2 separate regions of the Homo sapiens genome follow, and region 2 is linked to region 1. The links are contacts of gene promoters, found by promoter capture Hi-C in human tissues and cell types (Jung and others, 2019). All regions are on one chromosome and are shown on one strand. The core of a region is centred on a gene start or on the middle of the fragment in contact, and the rest is flanking DNA. Distances in the headings are between cores, read along the strand shown. Region 1 holds the start of C1orf146 (chromosome 1 open reading frame 146). Region 2 overlaps LOC105378856 (a long non-coding RNA gene).

Region 1 (6,181 bases), core at 1,434-3,933:
AATACTGTATTTTTACTTTTTTTACATTTAGATATGTTTAGATATGCAGGTTGCCTACAGTATTCAGTACATTAACATACTATACATATTTGTAGCCCAGGAGCAATAGGCTATACCATATAGCCTAGATGTCTAGTAGACTACACCATCTAAGTTTGTGTAATTACACTCTATGATGTTCTCACAATGACAAAATCACCTAATGATGCATTTCTCAGAACACATCCCCATCATTAAGCAATGCATGACTGTATGTGTATATACCCAGATTAGTACACACACATCTATTTCTTTACTCTGTTAGCTGAAAGGGCCTAAAACAAACGACACCCTAGCACCTGGGTGCTAGCAACAAGTACACCTAGCACCCAGATTTTGGTTTCTAAATAGCATTCTCCAAAAAAGGAACCAGGGCTCCTTGGAGAAATGGTCGATTCTAGGACTGGGACAGGAAACATACAAGATGAGTCCAGAGTAGTGCCAAAAAGAAAGTACTTAAAAACAAAAACAAACAAACAAAAAAACCCCACACAGATGGCATTGATGGGGCATGTCATAAGAGCACAGGAACCAACTGAAAGAGCTCCCAATGGCTAAAGCTGGAACAATTTGAGCAAAATAAAATAGCATTATAATCCAAAGTATAAAGTGAATATCCATGAGTCTATACTGATATAAAGGTTTGAACAAACCAATAAATGGAGAAGAGACAAATCTGTGCAGAATAATTCCAAAAAATTTATGTATATATACTCCAACCTTAAGAACAGGAGCATGGAGCTGGGCACAGTGGCACACACCTATAATTCAAGCTACTCGGGAGACTGAAGCAGGAGGATTGCTTAAGGCCAAGAGTTTGAGGCTGCAGTGCATTATGTTTGCACCTGTAAATAACAACTGTACTCCAGCCTGGGCAACATAGCAAGACCCTGTCTCTAAAAATATTAAACAGTGGGGGTGGGGAATATAACTCCCCATTCCTTAGGTGTGGCTGCACACCCAGGAGGTGGAGGTTGCAGTGACCTGAGATCCCATTCCTGCACTCCAGCGTGGGTGATAGAGCGAGACTCTGTCTTAAAAAAAAAAAAAAAAAAAAAAAAAGAAAGAGAAAGTCACTTTCAGTGATGGTAAGTTAGTATCTCCCAAGGTGATTTCATTCTACTTTTCAACAACTTTAATAATTAGAAAGTTCTTCCTGCTGAGTTGAAACCAGCTGCTCTCTAATTTCCTCATTTATTGCATGAATGAATGAATGAGAAGTTAACTAGCTCCATGAGAGCAGGGACACATTCTGATTCTGTTTTACCTTACTCAGCACCTGGCACTCAGTAGACACTCAAAGATTTGTGAATGAGTAAATGGTGAGTTGGCTGGGGGAAGGGCTTCAACTTCTATAACCCCCCCTACACATACTTACTAATACACCCACATAGCTATGAATACATATATGCAAAGGTTACAAGAACTTTTTGGAGTAGTTACTGGTATGTATGTGGATATGTATGTTTGTGCCTATCAGTTAGTAATCCATAAATGTTCATTTAAATCTTTACACCCTTATACATAGGTTTTAAAAACAATTTAACTAAAGCTAAGAGAAGTAAAGTAATCACGTGCACAATAAGTGAGAAAGGAGTGGGGTCAGTCGTGTCCCAAGTCCCTGTTAAAGGTGAGGAATGAATCAGAAACCTGGGGCTGGGGCAGTGCCTTCTCAGCATTTCTGGGGAAAAGCTCCTCGACCAGCAGCCAAGCAAGGACTGTGTGGCTTTGGGCAAATCACGTCACCTCTGGTTAGGCTGCATCCTCACCTGAAAACAAAAAGCTTCTAAACGGGAGGTGAACGCTGAGCGTGCAGGGACAGAGGGGAGGGGCAGGCGCGGGGGACGGGACCGGGGGACCAGAAGGTGGAGGAGGGACAGTCACTAATGGGCACCTGGGGGACGACAGAATCTGGACAACAAACTCCCGTGACACGAGTTTAACCTATGTAACACACCTGCACACGGACTCCTGAACCTAACATAAAAGTTAAATTAAAAATAAAAACAAAAAGCGTGGGCCCAGTGGCCTCTTAAACCTTTGCCAGTTCCAAGGCCCTGGTATTCTGGGCTTTTGTTGCTACTGTTTTGTTTTTTCCAAGCTCTGGAGTGTTTGCAAATTTAAGTTTAACACTGCCCCATCATCTCCAGCAAGTCACTTTCCCTGCTCAGTCTCCTCACGGGTCCAGTGAGGCGCCGGCCTACAAGGATCTTCACGGTCTCTTCCATTCTTTACTTTTCGGAGTGACCAACAAAGCCTAAAGCAAATAAAATTTACACTCGCAGGTGGGTGACGGACTTCTGACAGGGAAAACCCCGAGGGAGCCCTTTCCACACCGATTCTCAAGGGGAAAATAGGGTGGGCAGGATCTCCTCCCCTCACCCGCCAAAGCCCTGAGGTAAAGCTCTGAGCTCGGCAAGTCAGAGAGCACTACGCCGGCGAAGAACGAAGAAAGAAAAACGCGAAGAGACAGGTCTGCCGAGGCCTCATCCCCAGCGCTGCAAACCCACCTGCTCACCAGGTCCTCAGAGACCGCTCAGGGTTTCCCAAACTTCCAGAACGTTCCGTGAGCAGTGAGAGGCGCCGCCGGTAGGGCAGAGCGCCCAGGGTGCCTGGGGCAGGGTTCTGCAGTCGCTGGGCTTCTGCGCAACCGCAGACCCCGCAAACCTTTTCCGCGCTTCTGGCTCCCTAGAGCGAGGTTTGCAGGAAGCCGGAAGTGGTTAAGAAGATACAAGATTTGTAGGCCTGGCGCGGTGGCTCATGCCACTAATCCCAGCACTTTGGGAGGCCGAGGTGGGCGGATCACGAGGTCAGAAGTTTGAGACCAGCGTACCAACATGGTGAAACCCCGTCTCTACTAAAAATGCAAAAATTAGCTGGGCATGGAGGCGCGCACCTGTAATCCCAGCTACTCGAGAGGCTGGGGCAGGAGAATCGCTTGAACCCAGGAGGCGGAGGTTGCAGTGAGCGAGATCGCACCACTGCACTCCAGCCTGGGTGACAGGGCAAGACTCCGTCTCAAAAAAAAAAAAAAAAAAAAAACAAGATTTTTGCGTGTTAGACTCAGTTGTCCGGAATTGATTTTCACAGTTTTCTAAAATTCAGGCTCAATTCTTAGATTTCTGTCATTTGCAACATAAAATCAAAGTGGCCTTCAGTTTATCCAAATTATGAAAAAGGTAGATTTTCATGAGCAGCTGTCAAAAGGACATACAGGGGCCTGTGTGTTTGCTTTTTAGGACCCCATTATGTTCAGACCTAATTGAAGCTCAGCAATTTATTAAGTGTCACAATCATAAAAATGTAAAAAGACAAAGACCACTACTTGCCTTGAGCCTAATGGTTAGGATACAAAACTATGTGCCTTACTTTGTAAAACAGGTATTCCTGTAGAAAGAAAGGTGCTCCAGGAAAAATCCTTTGGAGCACACTTGTGATGTGCTGTTAATTTTTCCCTGTGATAACCATTTTGTATGTTTGGCATTTTGTATAACTGATATTAAAATTAGGTGCACTCTTGCTGCCTCATTTGGGCAGTTTGTTAAGCCACCACACCTGGCCTCTTGTTTATAAATTACCTGGTCTAAGGTATTTTGTTATCGTGGCCATAATGGACTAAGACAATTCCTCCTCTCTTCAAATCTCCAGAACTTATTCCTCATCTTCATTTTCGGCTGAAGTGAAATAGTTACTGCTAATATTTCATAAAGATTTATGATTTTAATAGTATTTAGTATTTAATATTAAATACTATTCAAATGAGATAAATAAAAGCATCCAGAAACGAAGTTCCACAGATGTCCACCTACCAATCTACCAACATCTATATGCCAGATTCTGCTTTCTTTCCAACTATAGTAGGTGAACTGTATAATCCTATGTAAGGCCAGCCCTCAAATGGACAACAGAGCCCATCTCTTCTTGCTTACCCAAGAATATAGCTCCACCGGCCAGTCGCGGTGGCTCACGCCTGTAATCCCAGCCCTTTGGGAGGCTGAGGCAGGTGAATCACAAGGTCAGGAGATCAAGATCAGCCTGGCCAATATGGCAAAACCTCATCTCTACTAAAAATACAAAAAATTAGCCAGGTGTGGTGGTGCACACCTGTAGTCCCAGCTACTTGGGAGGCTGAGGCAGGAGAATTGCTTGAACCTGGGAGGCAGAGGTTGTAGTGAGCCAAGATCATGCCACTGCACTCCAGCCTGAACAACAGAGCAAAACTGTCTCAAAAAAAAAAAAATATATATATATATATATATATATATATATCCACCAATTATTTCCTGACTCTTACAATCTTCAATTTTCTCCTCTCCACTGAATAGTCTCAATAGCAAATAAATATGCCATTATTTCTCTCATCTTAAAATCTCTTAATCTCCTCTCCCACACCAGCTAACAATCCATTTCTCTGCTCTCTTTACAGAAAAACTCAAAAGGATTGTCTATAATTTCTGTTGCTAATGCCCTTTTTTCCCATTCTTTATCAAATTTATTCCAATCAGACTTTTTCATTTCCACCATACCACAGAAATTGCTCATGTCAAAGTCATTGGTAAATCCAGCAAACAGCTGTCAATACTAATTTTACTTGGTCAATCAGCAGTACTTGTTACAGTTGATCATTCCCTCCTCCTGGAAAAACTTTCTTTCCTTGGCTTCCCCATATCATGCTCTCATGGTTTCCCTCCAGCCTCACTGGCCATTTATCAGCATCCTTATTGGTTCTTCCTCAAAACCCAACCTTTTAATCTTGCTTGGAGTGCCGCAAGCTCAGTCCTTGGACCTCTTTTCTTCTCTGGGTATATTTGTTACTTTGGTGTCCTCCTTAACTCATAGTGTTAGATATCATCCATGTGCTGACAAATTCCAAATATCTATCTACAGCCCTGGCCTTTCCCCTGAACTCCAAACTGGTATAACCAATTGCTGTTTAATATTTCCAGTAATAGACATCTCAAATTTCACATGTCCAAAACTGAACTTCTGACTTCCCCTCCCAATGCTGCACCATCTATAGTCTTCCTTATCTCAATTAAAGATTACACATATTTTATTTAAATACTTTGACTGTCTTACATACCCTTTTCAGCCATCAGGAAGTCTTGTTGCCTGTACTTTCAAAATATATCCAGAGCCTGACCACCTTTCTGGTTTGAGCCACCATCAGCTTTCACCTGGATTATTGCAATAGACTCCTAACAGGTTTCCGTTTTCACCTTGCCCCTAAAGTCTTTTTTCAACATAGCAACCAGGGTAATCCTTTGAAACAGAAGTCAGATTGTGTCTTTCCTTTGCTTAAAACCATATAATTGCTCTCAAAAAAAAAAAAATAAAAAAACAGGCCAGGCACAGTGGCTCAACGCTTATAATGCCAGCACTTTAGGAGCCCGAGGCGGGTGGATCACCTGAGGTCAGGAGTTCAAGACCAGTCTGACCAACATGGAGAAACCCTGTCTCTACTAAAAATACAAAATTAGCCAGGCATGGTGGTGGATGCTTGTAATCCCAGCTACTCAGGAGGCTGAGGCAGGAGAATTGCTTGAACCAAGGAGGTGGAGGTCGTGGTGAGCCGAGATTGCACCATTGCACTCCAGCCTGGGCAACAAGAGTGAAACTACGTCTCAAAACAAAACAAACAAACAAACACCATCTAATGGCTCTCAAACCTCTCAGAATTAAAGCTAAAATCCTTATGATAGCCAACATGGTCCAATTCCCCTGTATTGGTCCATTCTCACACTTCTACGAAGCAATACCTGAGACAGGGGAACTTATAAAGGAAAAAGTTTTAATTGACTCACAGTTCCACATGGCTTGGGAGGACTTAGGAAACTTACAATCATGGCAGAAGGCAAAAGAAAAGCAGGCACCTCCCCCACAGGGCGGCAGGAAGGAGTGAGTGCCGAGTGAAGGGCAAAACCCCTTATAAAACCATCAGATCTCGTGAGAACTCACTCACCATCATGAGAACCAGCATGGCAGAAACCACCCCCATGATTCAACGATCTCCACCTGTTCTGCTCTTGACACGTGGGAATTATGGGAATTACAATTCAAGATGAGATTTGGGTGGGGGACACAGCCAAACCATATCATCCCATTACCCATCTGGCCTCATCTGCTACTATCTCTCCCACTT
Region 2 (6,181 bases), core at 2,550-5,049, 730 kb after region 1:
TAAGAAGATTGAAATAGACAAATGTTTCCAGGGAACTGTAAGTTGTTTGGTATTACTTTAGCCCAAACAGCAAGAAAAATACTGGTAGGAGGTGAGCTAGAGAGTAGACACGGACATATCATGAAGTTTCTTGTGTGCTGTTCTCAAAATGAGGGCTATAGAGAACTAATGAAGGGTATTAAATAGGAGAGAGAGAAATAGACTTAATTTATTGAGATTACTTTAGTGTAGGAAATAAACTATAGGAGGAAGAGGCTATAAGCTGAGTGACCTATTCAATAAATGTTTAGAGATGGAGAGTGACATATTCTCACTTATAAGTGGGAGCTAAATAATCTGTACGCATGGACATAGAGTGTGGAATGATAGACATTGGAGATTCAGGAGAATGGGAGGGTGAGAGGGGTGTGATGGTTGACAAATTTCTTAATGGGTACAATGTACATTATATGGGTCCTGGATACACTAAAAGTCCAGACTTTACCGCTATGCAATATATCCATGTAACAACTCTGCACTTGTATCCCTTAAATTTATACAAATATAAGAAGAGAGAGAAAGAGAGAGAGAGAACTTAAAATAGATGACCTGAAATGGTCTCTTTTGGAAAAGCTTCAATTTTTTTAGTCTCCTCTACATGAGGCCTTATGCAGCATATAGGACGTTTCTATTCTGTGTTTATTTCTCCTTAAGAGATGAAAAAAAGAGACTAAGCACCTAGTTTGATTAAGTACAAGGCTTACAAGAAAGCAAAAGTAGCAACCCTGATCTCATCATTGCTGATTGACAAGAATGTTGTTTGTAGCATTACCAAATGTGGTCTCCTTTGCAAGAGAAAGCAGTTGAAGTAATAATAACCAGGTCAGTGATTCTAACAAGTGGATCATAGGAACAAATTAGCCAATGAAAATACATCCCTTTCTCTCTGATGTAGCTTTTTGGAGGAGGTGGATTAGTGAGCAGTGGGTCCCTGTTGGATGAGGGGTTAGGGAAGGGATGGCCTGAGCTCTAAACATAGGAAGGGCTTCCATGCATATCCTACATGTCTGGATGATGGATTGAGACTTGACTCTGCCATTTTTTGGCTTCCTCCTGAAGATGATAGTCAGTAGCAGTCAAAGTCATGGTTCAAGAAGGGTCACTAACATAGCACTTTCCTCTAGACACACCTCTCCTTAGAAAAACACCCAAAACAGAGTATTCTTCTTTGGAGTCAACAGTGGGAGAGTATGAACAAATAGAATAGATACTCCCTGCACACAAGGTATGGGCTCACAACAAGAGCTAGCCAGCTGGTGACAGCACTTTCTCTGTGGCCCACTGCTCCTCTAAAATAGGCCTGTTTCTGTATAAGAACCTGGTGAATTATTGAGAGGGAATTGGGATAAGTTGTTCTGCCCTCCACCCCTTTCCTCAGGGTACAGCTGGAATTGAGGTAAGTACATAATATCTAAGTTTAGGCCTATATTAGAATAATGAGGGAAATGGACACTTTGGGCCACTTAATGAGGTAAATGGACATTGAATGAGGTAAAAGAACATAGTACTGGCATTGAGGGACATAAATTCTAGCAACCAAACTGGGAGACTTCTCTCTCATCCAAGCATCCCAAACAAAAATGAGAAAAGTTCAATAGCAGTGCTATAAGGGAAAACCTCCGCAATTCCTTCTTGATCCCATTTGATATATATTTGAATTATTGACATAATGAATGTAAGGGAAGGGGATGCATTTGATGCACACTGTCATAGGCACTGAGTTGGGCACTGTAGTAAGATCTTTTTATGTGTTATCTTATTAATTCTTTAATTATTGGACTTATTTTATAGATCAGAAATATTAGCTTTAGAAAAGACTGGCCAGGCGCAGTGGCTCACTCCTGTAATCCCAGCACTTTTGGGAGGCTGAGGTGGGTGGACTGCATGAGCCTAGGAGTTTGAGACCAGCCTGGGTAACAGGGCGAAACCTCATCTCTAGTAAAAATACAAAAATTAGCCAGGCATGGTGGTGCACACCTCCAGTCCCAGCTACTTGGGAGGTGAAGGTGGGAGGATCACCTGAGCCTGAGAGGTCGAGGCTACAGTGAGCTGAGATCATCAGGCTGCTGCACTCCAGCCTGGGAGGCAGAGCAATCCTGTCTTAAAAAAAAAAAGATTAAGTAAATACCGATGACAACAAGCCAGTAAGTGGCAGAGCTGAAATTGGAATCTAGGATTCTTTGAACACAAAGGTCTTCATTTGGATTAGACCTCAACTATATATTTTTTCCTTTTTATTGTGGTAAAATACACATAACATACAGTTTACCATCTTAACCATCATTAAGCATACTACAGTTCAGTGGTATTAATACATTTACGTAGTTGTGCAACCATCACCACCATCCATCTCCAGATCCCTTTTCACCTGGTAAAACTGAAACTCTACACCCATTGAACAATAACTTCATTCCCTAGTCCCCCAGACCCTGGCAACTACCATTCTACTTTCTGTTTCTATGAATTTGACTACTCTAAGTAACTCTGGCAGAATCATACAGATTTGTCATTTTGTGGCAAGCGCATTTCACTTAGCATAATGTCCTCAAGGTTCATCTGTGTTGTAGCATATGTCAGAATTTCCTTCCTGTTTAAGACTACATAATATTCCATTGTATGTAGATGCATCGTGTGCATCTACAACCTCTGTATCTGTGGATTTCACATCTGTGGGTTCAACCAACTGAGATTGAAAATATTCAGGGGGAACTATAGATGTTTGCATCTGGACTGAACATATACAGATGTTTTTTCTTGCCATAATTCCCTAAACAATACAGTATAACAACTATTTACATATCATTTACATTGTATTAGGTATTATAAGTAATCTAGAATGATTTAAAATATATGGGAGGATTGGATAGATTATGTGAAAATACTACACCATTTTATATAAGGGACTTGAGGATCTGTGAATTTTGGTATCTGTGAGGGGTCTGGTAACCAATCCCCCATGGATACCAAGGGATGACTGTATCACATTTTGCTTATCCATTCATCTGTCATGAACAGTTGGGTTGCTTCCATGTTTTAGCTATTGTGAATAATGCTGCTATAAACATTGGTATACATGGGAGACCCTTTTGATTCTTTTGAGTATGTACCTAGCGGTGGAATTGCTAGATCATATGGTAATTCTATTTTTAGCTTTTGATGAACTACCATACTGTTTTCCACAGCAGCTGCACCATTTTACATTTCTACCAACAGTGCACAGAGTTCTAATTTCCCCATATTTTTGCCAACACTTTTTTTTTTTAATGGTGGCCATCCTAATGGATGTGAGGTGGAATCTCACTGTGGTTATGACTTGCATTTCCCAAGTAATTTTTGATGTTGAGCATCTTTTCATGTGTTTGTGACCATTTGTATATCTTCTATGGAGAAAAGTATATTAAAGGCTTTTTCCAATTTTTTGAATTTTTTTAATTGTTGAATTTTAGGAGTTCTTTTATATTCAGGGTATTAATCCCTTATCAGATGTATAACTTGACAATATTTTCTCCCATTGTGTGGGTTGACTTTTTACTTTATTAATAGTGTCTTTTGATGCACAAAGATTTTGTTTTGTTTTTACTCCCCAAAGGAAACAATCCCAAAAGCTTAAATTTTCATAAAGTACAGTTTGTCTATTTTTTCCTTTTGTTGCCTGTGCTTTTGGTGTCACATTCAAGAAATCATTGTCAAATCTAATGTTGAGAAAATTTGGCCCTTTGTTTTCTTCTAAGAGTTTTATGGTTTTAGCTCTTTGTTTAGATCTTTGATCTATTTTGAGTTAATATTTGTAGATGGTGTTAGGTAAGGGTCCAACTTCATTCTTTTTTTTTTTTTTTTTTTTTTGAGATGGAGTCTCGCTCTTTTCACCCAGGCTGGAGTGCAGTGGCACGACCTCGGCTCACTGTCACCTCCGCCTTCCGGGCTCAAGTGATTCTCCTGCCTCAGCCTCCTGAGTAGCTGGGATTACAGGTGCCTGCCATCACGCTCGGCTAATTTTTGTACTTTTAGTAGGGACGGGTTTCACCATTTTGGCCAGGCTGGTCTCGAATTCCTGACCTCAGGTGATCTGCCCGCCTGGGCCTCCCAAAGTCCTGGGATTACAGGTGTGAGCCACTGTGCCTGGCCCCAACTTTATTCGTTTGCATGTGGATATCCAGTTTTCCAGGAGATCTCAACTATATATTTTTTAAAGTTTTTTCAACTTGGCTAGCAAATAACTTGCTCAGGCTGACTTCAATTTGAAATTCAATTTTCAAGTACAGGTAACTTCATGCTCTATTATTGAAAAAAAGATACTAATTTTTGTCCTATTGTCCTGTAGCAGTTTAAAGAGATACAAATCTCTCAGGAGTAGATTAAAGACAATTTTTTTAAAAGGAACCCAAACAGTTGAGTATAATAATTATTTATCTATCTAGTGTTGTTTTATATCTATTCATTTATCTTTTTTTTTTTTTTGGTGGTACCTGTGGCTAGTTGCAACCCAATTTCAAAAACTAAAAACGTGAAGAATGGGAACTTGGTAAAAAAAAAACCTGCAAATCTACCAAGGGAGAAAAAGTATTTATAGTATGAAATAAATATGTTGCACCTAAAGGTAATTACAGCATGCAAAGAAAACAAATAACACATATTTTCCTCCTAAGATATACAGATTTCAAACACTCTGGAGAAAAAAATCCTGTTATTATTACTAAAATTCAGAGAGACTCACAGGACCAAATTCATATTTTAAGAATTTAAATGCAAACTTATGAAAATTGAGATTTCTGTACATTCCCAGGGCTCCAGTATATAGTCAAATACTATTAGGACTGGGAGGTCAAGGAGCAAGTACTGTGATATGTCAAGTTTCGTCTCCAGGGACTGAAACTTGCTAGCATCTGGTACTACTCTGAAATGTGCTGATTATATCAGTTCAGCTATTAATGGGAAAAATATCCAGTATGATGAAATCTTAATGGCTTGACTTCCAATTGTTTGTTATCTTTAAAGAAGATGATTTAAGATTTTGAAAAATCCCTAGAAATTTCAAGTTCAGGCCCTTTGTGTTGGTGCCTTTTTGCTGGAAAAGAAATATGCTTAAGAGCACATTTTAAAAACGATGTATCAATACTATACAAAACTTTTCATATTCTTATGTGTTTTAAAATTACAGAATAAGATTGTAATTAGCCAATATTGATTTTTTAAAAACATAAAGTTGTGACTGTCCATTATTTAAGACAATTTACTAAGATATAACTTAATACAGCAATATTAATTGGGGTTTAATGCTAGTGGTTTTTCAGATTTAGAACAATTATCTGCTTAGTTTCAAGTTTTAAATATAAAATTTTATCCCAAAGAAGAATTTTCCAGTTAGGCTATCCATCACTGCCCCTTCTCCAAAATACTAACATAAATTTATTTTATTTTATTTTATTTTTGAGATGGAGTCTCGCTCTGTCTCCCAGGCTGGAGTGCAGTGGTGCTGTCTCAGGTCACTGCAACCTCTGTCTCCCAGGTTCAAGTGATTCTCCTGCCTCAGCCTCCTGAGTAGCTGGGACTACAGGCATGTGCCACCATGCCCGGCCAAAGTTTGTATTTTTAGTAGAGATGGGGTTTCATTGTGTTGGCGAGGTTGGTCTCAAACTCCTGACCTCAGGTGATCTGCCCACCTTGGCCTCCCAAAGTGCTGGGATTACAGGCATGAGCCACCATGCCTGACCCTAAAATAAATTTTAAATGGAGGCATAGGCACAATTAACTTTGAAGCTTTAAATATAGTGATAAACTTGACTCTCGTAAGTTTGAGTTTGGAGCATCACAGTGGTCTGAGAACTATAGACCAAATCCCCTGTGGGACAAATCCAGCCTGTCACCTGTTTTTGTACACACTGCAAGCTAAGAATGGATTTTACACTTTTAAGTTATTGAAAAAAATGTATAAAAGAATATTTGGGACACATGAAAATTATATAAAAATCAAATTCTAGTGTTCATAAATAAAGTTTTATTGGAACACAGCCATGCTCATTTGTTTGGTATTGTCTATGGCTGCTTTCACTCTACAATGGCAGAGGTGAGTTGAGTAGCTGCCACAGAGATGTGTGGCCCACAAAATCGAAAATATTTACTAGCTGGCCCTTTATGCGAAAAG

Evidence for each region. Contacts are between HindIII fragments. The study calls those that stand out against the background at their distance.
Region 2: a contact is called between a fragment that was not itself captured here and the fragment with the promoter of C1orf146 in region 1, in 2 of the 25 tissues and cell types used here (heart left ventricle and stomach).

The regions. Positions count from the first base shown.
Region 1 is chr1:92,214,417-92,220,597 of GRCh38, reverse strand. C1orf146 (chromosome 1 open reading frame 146) reads right to left here and starts at 2,683. Exons shown (of 6, transcript NM_001012425.2): 1 at 2,550-2,683. The HindIII fragment of the contact is 16,370 bases long and covers 1-6,181 here.
Region 2 is chr1:91,489,459-91,495,639 of GRCh38, reverse strand. LOC105378856 (a long non-coding RNA gene) reads left to right here. Exons shown (of 3, transcript XR_947599.4): 2 at 4,516-4,636. Among named protein-coding and RNA genes, the nearest start is that of CDC7, 8.3 kb to the left of the region's middle. The HindIII fragment of the contact is 7,632 bases long and covers 1-6,181 here.